Regions from separate parts of the Homo sapiens genome. Here regions 1 and 3 are each linked to region 2. The links are contacts of gene promoters, found by promoter capture Hi-C in blood cells and fetal thymus (Javierre and others, 2016). All regions are on one chromosome and are shown on one strand. The core of a region is centred on a gene start or on the middle of the fragment in contact, and the rest is flanking DNA. Distances in the headings are between cores, read along the strand shown.

Region 1 (3,308 bases), core at 778-3,277, 99 kb before region 2:
CCTGGTTGCCAGGATGGCCCCGTGGAATACCATGGGACAGTTGCCCCAGGCAATGCCAGTGGGTCCTGGGATCCCAAGCAGATCTCTCCACCAGCCCTGGTTTATCTCATTTGTGAAATTAAAAGGAAAGACCAATAGATATCCACATTCTGGTATTGTGATTCCATGGGTACTGTATGTGCGCTTTTGAGTAAACAAAATTTTTAAAAATATTTTTTGGGAAAAGAAGGCTCAAATACAGAGTCTTTAGATGGGGTAGTAAGCAGTTTTGGGTGAGGAAAACTGTTCACATTTAACCCCCCACCTCCCCCAAAACCCTACAGATAGATAAGAGTTAAATATAAAAAAATCAAAACAAAAAATAGGATTTGCTGATTCCTCTGGGAGATGGAAACTTTCCAAAGTGGAAGCAGTTGGAAAAATAAAGAGAGAAAAATGGACAGATTCCACTAGAAATACGTGCAGTGAAAACAGGGAAAGCAGACAAAAAGGGGGACCATTAATATATTTTCCAGTGTCTCTGTGTCACCTGTTATATGCACTGTAAGTAATAATTAGAATCAAATCTGAGGAGTTACTATGTTGGGAGAGTTTTTGATATACATATTACCTGACTGAGTCCTTGCGACGCTTAGTGAAGGCACTCTAGTTAAAAAAAGAAAGTGCTATTTGTGTTGAGGAGGAAACTGAGACATAGAAAGATTCGACAAGTTGCCCAGAGTTTCAAGCTGCAAATGAGGGGCCAGGATTAAATCAGGCATTCATACTCCAGCCTCCCCGGAAATTAAAATGGTTTAGAAGATGGCTGAGACCGATTCCATTCTGAACAAAGGATGTGAGCAGGTTTTTCTTTTAAGAGGAGAGAGTAAATAAACAAGTGGGGAAATTATAACCTAATAAATGTAAATTAAAACAGTAACAAAGTATCATTTAACATATTAAAGTAATCAGTGGTTTTAAGTGACAGAATCTTGTGTTGATAAAATAAAATGGAAACTGCAGTCAGATGTATCTAATGGAATGAGTACATTGCCATAACTCTTTTGGAAAGCATTTTGGCAACATTTACAAGAAATCAACAAAAACAGTTAACACATTTTTGACCCAGTTAATTTTACTTTGGAGAAGTAATGGAATAGGAATTCCGAAGAAGCATGAGCTCATCATTATAGCATTGTTTACATCCACCAGGAGATGAATGTTTAAGTAAATTATGGCTGGGCATTTAATGGAATTTTTATCCTTCAACAGTGCTTTTCATACAGTTAATGGAAAAGAACAGAGTATGAAATATATGACAACTCTTCTTAAAAATATGTAAGGATATAGGCGAGGTGCAGTGGCTCATGCCTGTAATCCCAGCATGTTGGGAGGCCGAGGTGGGCGGATCACCTGAGGCCAGGAGTTCGAGACCAGCCTGGCCAACATAGTGAAAACCTGTCTCTACTAAAAATAAAAAATTAGCCAAGTGTGGCGGCACGTGCCTGTAGTCCCAACTACTCAGGAGGCTGAGGCAGGAGAATCACTTGAATCCAGCAGCCGGAGGTTACAGGGAGCTGAGATTGCACCACTGCATTCCAGCCTGGGCGACAGAGCAAGACTGTGTCTCAGAAAAAAAAAAGTAAGCATATAGACCAAGCCTGCAGCCTGCATAAGAAAGGGGGGCCTTATTTAGCCCAATGGAATTCTGAGTGGATTTTTACAATGTTTTAATTTTATAGTTTGCTTTCTTTGAAGTAAGAATCAAGTGAGAAAAAGCATTTAATTATGGAATATAGTGTTCACTCCCACTTGTTTAGAAAGGAACACTAATGTTTTAGGTAGGCTGGCACAGGTGAGGCAGGAGTGCTGTTTTGTTAGTAAACTTTTGGTAAATGGTTTTCATTTGGTTATGCCTTTTGTTGCTGTTGTTGTTTTTTGTTTTTGTTTTTTTTTTTGAGATGGAGTCTTGCTCTGTTGCCCAGGCTGGAGTGCAGAGGTGCAATCTCAGCTCACTATAAGCTCCGCCTCCCGGGTTCACGCCATTCTCCTGCCTCAGCCTCCCGAGTAGCTGGGACTACAGGCGCCCGCCATTATGCCCAGCTAATTTTTTGTATTTTTAGTAGAGACGGGTGGCGTTTCACCGCGTTAGCCAGGATGGTCTCGATCACCTGACCTCGTGATCTGCCTGCCTCGGCCTCCTAAAGTGCTGGGATTACAGACGTGAGCCACCACGCCCGGCGTTGTTGTTTTTTTGAGACAGGGTCTCACTCTGTTGCCCAGGCTGGAATGCAGTGGTGCAATCACAGCTCACTGCAGCCCCAACCTCCCAGGTTCAGGTGATTCTCCCACCTTCCCAAGTAGCTGGGACTACAGGCATGTGCCAGAATACCCGGCCAATTTTTTGTAGAGACAGGGTTTCCCCATGTTGCCCAGGCTAGTCTCGAACTCCTGGGCTCAAACAGTCCACCCACCTCGGCCTCCCAAAGTGTTGGATTTACAGGCGTGAGCCCCTGTGCTCAGCCTGGTTGTGCCATTTTTTGAAAAGCAAATTTCATCCTTTTGGACACATACATGACACTTACCGCACCCTCACTCCCCCCAGTTATGCTTTCTAAAAACTTCTGTCAAGGTAAAGATTGAAAACATGTTCATCTTTTGTGTGCACTGTTTATGAATAGTAGCTGAATAGCCCCTCCGCAAGGAGGATGCAGCCCCTTCCATAAAGGATGCTGTTGTGGCTCCATGTCTGCTTAGCCCGAGTGTGGGCGCCCAGCTGTGTGCCCAGCTCTGTGCCAGCTGCCCGGGGCAGGCCTCTAGAGCAGTTGCGGTTAGCTCCCACAGTGATTGAGCACAGGCTGGGTGAGTTAGTACAGATGTCATTTTCTGTATTAGAAAATTAATGTCAAATCTGCTAAGAAAATAGGCTGTTTTTGGTCTCTATCCAGATTTACAACATAAAGAGGGTATAATTTTCCATCTTCAGAGGGGCTTGATGTATTTTGCTCAATGATTTCCTTTCTTTTCCCAGAGCTATTCAGGGATTAAAATACTTGGCTAGATCCTGTCAGGTGAGGAGTGAATGACTCCTCAGGTGTCAGTGCGGCATTTTCTGCAAGTTCATTTTTACTTTCAGGACATCACATTGCCACTCAGTGGAAAGCGTCCACGTAGTAGAATGTTGTATGTCTTGGAAGTATCAGCGCCCAGCTCACACCTGGTAGTACATTCATCGAGAAGGGACTAGCCCAATGTGGGGTGTAAAAAATGCACCAGGTTCTTGAAGTTATCTGAGAAGGTTCTTTCAAGTTGGTGTTTCTTGGGCTGAT
Region 2 (3,018 bases), core at 272-2,771:
CCTCAACCTCCGGAGGTCAAGGAATCCTCCCACCTCAGCCTCCTGAGTAGCTGGCACATGCCACCACTCCACCGCTTTATTATTATTCTTTTAATTAAAAAAATTTTTATAGAGATGGAGTCTCACTATGTTGTCCAGCCTGGCCTTGAACTCCTGGGCTCAAGAGATCCTCTGGCCATGGCCTCCCAAAGTCCTGAGACTATAGGCAAGAGCCACTGCACCCGCCCCCTTCATATTTTAAAAGCAGTAAAATGTTGCCCACACTAATAACATCTACATGGGAACCTCCTATGCTTGGGAGAACTTTGAAATCCCTTCCAACTTGGTAACTCGTCCACGGCTGAGGGTGGCCCGTCAGTGGACATGGCGCAAGGTGGCAAGAACTTGGGGCTGGGGACACTTTGCTGAGGGACCCGGGACAAGCCACACTCCCTATCTGGGCCTCACTATCTTTAGGACCTCGGGTAAAGGCATGGGATTTGGGCACCGGAGGGTTCTAAGATCCAGGTCTTTGCCAGCATGGGGCTCGGAAGCTCCCTGTCCAAATGGCGTTTGTTTGTGGATGGCCACATCATGGTTCTGCCCATCTCCTGACTCTGTGTACTCTGAAAGCCAGGCATGCTTCTTAATTCCCTCTAATGATTTCCCAGAGAGCCTGCTGGATCCAGGCTGCTGCTGTTATCACTGCAGCCGGCCGATGGGGCTCCAAGCAGACGGGCAGATGGCACCCATTTAGGGGCGGATGTGAAATGGGGCTACTGATTTCCAGAGCTTGCTTTCAGTGATGGCTGAGAAAGGCCTACCTGGCGGCACGGACCACCCTGGGGGCACAAAGCGGACAGGCAGCTGATAAGCCTTACCTAATACCTATCCTGTGCTAAAAACTTTACCATCTTCCCAGTTCACTCCCAGTCGGTCTTAGGAGACAGGACCGCTATTGTGCCCATTTTGCAGACAGGAAGCCGAGCTCAGAGAGGATGGGTAACATGCCCGAAGGCACAGAGAGTGTCTTGGTCTGTCCGGACGCGTCTGTAGAGTTACAGGAAGAGAAGGGCCGCCCTCCAGAGGGCCGGGAGCGCCCCAGCGCGGGTCCGGGGTCGAGGTTGGTGGTCCCGCCGCCTGGAAGTGGTGGAGCGGCGCGGGGAGGGGGGAAAGTGGGGAGAGCCGCGAGCGGCAAATCAGGAGGGAGGGCCAGGCTGTCGGGGGCGGACGGGTGGGGCTGGCACCGAGAGGCAGGGGCAGGATAGGAGAGTGGGGGAGACACCAGGTCCGCGCCAGGCGTCTCGGGGGTAAGCCTGGGAAGCTCTGGGGTGGCGAGCGAGCCGGGTGTGGGATGGAGCCTGGGGGCGATCAGAGTGAGGCGGGGAACCGGCGGTGGTCTCGCCTGGGGCCCAGGTGCGGGCCGCGGGGGCGGGAGAAGCCGGAAGCCCAAGCCGGCCGCGCTCCGCCCCGGCGGGTCCAGCCCCCGCCCCCGTCCCCGCCGCCCGGCCCTTTTCTCGGGGCGCCCGAGAGGCCAGCTCAGACCTCCCGGCTCGACAGGCGGCGCGGGCGGCGGTGAGTGCGGCGCGGGGACGCCGGGGCGCGGGGACCAGCGGGAGACAGCGGGGGGCCGGTGGCGCCAGCACCTGCTGGGGGCCCCGGGCACTGAGCCCTTGGCTGGGGCCTCCTGGGATGCCAGGGGGCGCGGGTCGGGTCGCGGGCATCGAGGCGCGGCGGAGGGCGTGGGGGCCCGGCCGGGGCGGGGTCCGGCCTCCCAGCGCTGGTCCCGGCCGCGTCTCCGGTTGGGTTCAGCTCCTGCGTCCCAGAGTGGCCCGATCGCGCGTGGCGGGGTCGTCCGGCCCCCACCCGAACGAGCGCCCTTCGCGGCCCGCCGCGTCCCCCTCCCCGGAGAGGACGGCCCCTGGGCTTTTTAGAAAAAGGCGCGATTCTCTCTAGTGACTCAGGTTGAGATTTCCAGAAATATCCCCCGGGGGTTCAGAAACAAAACCAAAACAAACAAAAAAACCCCAACGAATTCCCAAATGCTATTTGCCAAACATTTGACTTCTAGGGGCGCGGGTACCCGCGTTTCTCTCCCTGCCCCCGCGACTTCGCGCAAGATCCGGGAAGGACACCCGAGGCCCCTGGGAGACCCTGGGGAGGTGAAAATCAGAGAGCGAAGCGGGCCGTGGCCCCTAGGCCTGACCCCTCCCCGCGGGGTAAGGCGGGCACCCCGCGAGCGCAGGGGTCCTCTTACTGCTGATGGCACCCAGCTCTGGGCCCAGACGCCGCTCACCGTCCACCGCCGGTGCTGGGTAGGTGCTGGTGGGACCAGCTGGTGACTGGTGGCAGAAGTGGATCTCGCCCCTCCCTGCCAAGCTAGGCAAATACCCTCCCCGCTCTGGTTTGCAGGTCACTGTGGATAGGTGGTCAGTTGGTGGTGTGCCCGAAGCTCTTCGGGGTCAGGGAGAGGAGGTGATAGGGGAAAGGTGTATGTTCTGGAAGGGCCAGTCATGCTTCAGGGACCAGGCTAGTTGGACCTTCACTGGTTTTCTACTTCCCGACAGTGGAGCTGATGTCACTGGCTGTTGGACTGAGCAGTGGTCACTGGGAAATCTACAGTTTGTGGAAGCCACGGGGTCTTCCAAGCTCCTACCAGTCTTCCCAAAGAGGATGCCTCCCTCCCCTTGGCCTGGTGCACTGGTGCTGGTTCAAAGACTGTCTGAAGCCCAGCTTGGGGTCCTCTTTAGGAAAGCCATGATTTGCCTTAATGTGTGCTTGGCTGCTTCATCTGCCCTCTCACCCCCTGCCTTCTCAGAGTGACTCTTTTTAGGACTTCCTATTTAGGACTAACCCAGATGCCTACAGAGAGAAGTGCAGGCTGGTATCTGGAATTCCACCAGTGTTTTGGTTTTATCAGTTGGAGCAGGATCTAGATGGCGTGTGACTTGCTTTACCTGGCATAGAGTAACACCCATATTGCACTTGGCTTTCTTCTCCACCAGCCCTTGCTCTGGGAACTAAATGTGCACCAAACTC
Region 3 (3,361 bases), core at 486-2,985, 120 kb before region 2:
ACTGGTTAGTAACTAATTCTTTACCCAGATGTTCCTTCAAGATTTCATTACATCTTGCAGTGATCATTGACACCAGTTGTCACTGTATGGTTAACAGAGATCTTGAACTGGCCAATTACCAGGCTAATGGAGAATTTTTTTTTTAATCGAATGGGATACTGCAGTTTTTAGACCTTTTTGAGTAGAGGAGGGGAGAGTATGAGTCTTAGTTTATTTTTAATTGTCCAACAAATTCCAAGTTCTTAATTAAAATATTGAAAATTCATTACTTTTAGGACAAAATAATTCATTTTATAAATGACTAAGACTTCTGTCGTAGAAAGCCCTGGAGCTCTGCTTATCAGAAAACACTCTGGATAAGGAGATGTGACATGCTGGTTTTTTGTGTCATCTTTACGCTATAAACTTCCTCTGCTAATCTAAGTATTCTTTGTTCACGTGAGACTGCAAATTTAAGCTGCTGCTTCTAGCAAGATTTCCACCATATGCTAGAACTTAAATAGAAGCGTGTTTTTTGTACATTTCTGTTATGTGTGAAAAATAAAGTTTTGAAATTATAATATGTTTGAGCATGTTAGAATTTGTTCTGTATGGGCAGACTGTCCATTCTTATTAAGGCAGTTAAACAGGTTTTTGAATGGCCCCTTTTAACTTTTGGGTCAGGCTGTCACTTCTTATTTCTCTGCTCTAATAAATCACGATGGTGACTTTGGCAGGCTATCAAATGAATTTCCTTACTGGCTGCTTTTCCTTCTCTTCTTTTAACTGTGACTGTCCTCCAAGATCAGCTGCTTCTGGAGAGTGGTGTTTTGGTCCTACTAAATCACGTCCTCTCTTTGGTCTGTTTCTTCTGACAGCTTTGGGATCTGGACTTATATGCCATGCCCTTTAAACAAAGTTTTTAAAAATCTTCAACTAATTCTATACTTAGAGAAAAGTTGCAAAAATAAAACAGAGAGTTCCATAATTGCCTGTCTTTAGCCAGTTTCCCCCATTGTTAACATCTTACATAACCAATTGTTAGGTGGTTTTGTACAAACTAAGAAGTCAATGTTAGAGTTGGGTGTGGTGGCTCACACCTGTAATCTCAGCACTTTGGGAGGCTGAGGCCAGGTGGATCACTTGAGGTTAGGAGTTCGAGATCATCCTGGCCAACATGGTGAAACCTTGTCTCTACTAAAAATACAGAAAAATTAGCTGGACATGGGGGTGCATGCCTATAATCCCAGCTACTCGGGAGGCTGAGGCAGGAGAATCACTTAAGGTTGCAGTGAGCCGAGATGCACCACTGTACTCCAGCCTGGGCGACAGAACAAGAATCTGTCTCAAAAAAAAAAAAGAAAGAAAAAGAAGTTAACATTGGTTCGGTCCTATTCACTAAACTGCAGACCTCATTTGAATTGTCTCCATGTTTCCACTAGTGTCTGTTTTTGTTTCAGGATCCAGTCTGGGATCCCATATCGCAATGTGTTGGTTTTTTTCTCAGTTTCCTTCAACCTATGACAAATCCTCTGTCTTTCCTTGTCCTTTATAACCTTGACACTTCTGAAGAATATTTCTCAGGTATTTTGTAGAAAATTGCTCAATTTTGTCTGTTTTCTTGTGACTGGAATAGGTCATGTCTTTTGACAGCAATACCATAGAAATAGGTACTTCTCAGCACTTCTTATCAGGGGGTTCATATGATGTCAGTGTGTCTCCTACTGGTGACATTAACTTTGATCAGTTGGTTAAAGTAGTGTCTGCTGTGTTTCTCCACTGAAAAGTTACTATCTCTTCCTTTGTAATTAATAAATAAATACCTTGGGGGAAGATCATTTGACACTATGTAAATATATCCTCAAACTTCTGCTCATGAATTTTAGCCTCCATCAGTGGATCTTGCCTGCAACAATTACTCTGGTGTTCAAATGGTTATTTTCTGTTTCTTTCATTCTTTTTTCATTATTAGTGGAATTCTCCCTTAAAGAAGAGCTGACTGTTCTCATTAATATTATTATGGAGTCATGGGTATTTATCTTATTCTGTGTACTGTCATTGTTTATTTTGTTGCTCAAATTGTTCCAACTTTGGCTACTAGGAGGGCTTCAGCTTGGCTCCTGGGTCCTTTGGACAAACCCCCATCCTTTTATGAGCACTTCTTTACTTCATTTATTTTTTTTGAGACGGAGTTTCACTCTTGTCACCCAGGCTGGAGTGCAATGGCAAAATCTCGGCTCACTGCAACCTGCACCTCCCGGGTTCAAGCAATTCTGCTGCCTCAGCCTCCCAGATAGCTGGAATTACAGGTGCGTGCCACCACATCCGGCTAATTCTTGTATTTTTAGTAGAGATGGGGTTTCACTATGTTGGCCAGGCTGGTCTCAAACTCATGACCTCAGGTGATCCACCCGCCTTGGCCTCCCAAAGTGCTGGGATTACAGGCGTGAGCCACCATGCCCAGCCCACTTCTTTACTTCTGATACAAGATATTTCAGGCTTATCTTGTACTTTCTTCACCCCAGCTCTGGAATCAACCTCTTCTCCAAGGGCCCTGGTTTCTTTTACTGGAGAATGGCATTTAGAAACCAAGATCTACGTGCTAGGTATGCTCTTTGGTATTAGGATGTCATTACTTCTAGGTCTTCTCAGTAGATAGAACTAGGAAGTGTATTATACCCACACATGTGCATATATCTGTATTTCTCTATCCATCCCCTCTCTCTCCCTCTGTGTGTGTGTGTGTGTGTGTGTGTGTGTGTGTGTATCAAAAGCCTTAAGTTTATACTCATTCTCTCTGATTTCAATTTAACATCACAGGGTTTATTTTAGCCTTCTCTTATTAATATATAACTTCTTACTGCAACAGTGAGAGTCCTGGCTGTAATTATGTATAATGTACTTACCACAAAGAAGTAAATAAGTTCATAGTTTCAGAATTGCTAACTTATACCTCTTTAAGAAACACATTTACTACCTAGATTTACAGCATTTATGTACAGTTCTTTTTGCCTTTAGTTTTACAGCATCCAGTCAAGATACTGTTTTCCAGTTACTTAGGTTCTTTCTTCCTGTCCCATTCACCATGGTGTTACCCGTTTGCAATAGTTAGGGTTATTTGTACGTGCTGTATTCCACGTTGGGTTTGCCACATCTCGCTTGGTTTTAACTAATTGTTTAATTTTGGAGTGTGTGAAGGGTGTGTGATACATCACTGTGGCCCTAGGAGTCAGATACAAAAAGGCCTACTCAGTGCCAGGCCTCCTCAGCCCTGCCTTCCCGTTTCCAGTCCCCTTTCCCCAGCCTGGCTTATTTGTCCTGTATTTCTTTTGTTTTGTGCCATTTTACACTCATCAGATTTGTATGAAAAATTATTGACTCT

The links. Contacts are between HindIII fragments. The CHiCAGO score rates a contact against its expected background, and 5 or more counts as called.
Region 1: a fragment that was not itself captured here is called in contact with the fragment with the promoter of LITAF in region 2 in 5 of 17 cell types (neutrophils, monocytes, total CD4 T cells and 2 more); the score reaches 8.3 in neutrophils.
Region 3: a contact is called between a fragment that was not itself captured here and the fragment with the promoter of LITAF in region 2, in 5 of 17 cell types (neutrophils, monocytes, total CD8 T cells and 2 more). The highest score is 12.4, in neutrophils.

Annotation. Positions count from the first base shown.
Region 1 is chr16:11,684,278-11,687,585 of GRCh38, reverse strand. All of the region lies in intron 10 of TXNDC11 (thioredoxin domain containing 11), which reads left to right. Among named protein-coding and RNA genes, the nearest start is that of SNN, 17 kb to the right of the region's middle. The HindIII fragment of the contact is 6,503 bases long and covers 1-3,308 here.
Region 2 is chr16:11,585,422-11,588,439 of GRCh38, reverse strand. LITAF (lipopolysaccharide induced TNF factor) reads left to right here and starts at 1,521. Exons shown (of 4, transcript NM_001136472.2): 1 at 1,521-1,554. RefSeq lists silencers at 1,168-1,647, 1,678-1,757 and an enhancer at 2,658-2,767. The HindIII fragment of the contact is 18,010 bases long and covers 1-3,018 here.
Region 3 is chr16:11,702,894-11,706,254 of GRCh38, reverse strand. All of the region lies in intron 5 of TXNDC11 (thioredoxin domain containing 11), which reads left to right. Among named protein-coding and RNA genes, the nearest start is that of SNN, 36 kb to the right of the region's middle. The HindIII fragment of the contact is 4,582 bases long and covers 1-3,361 here.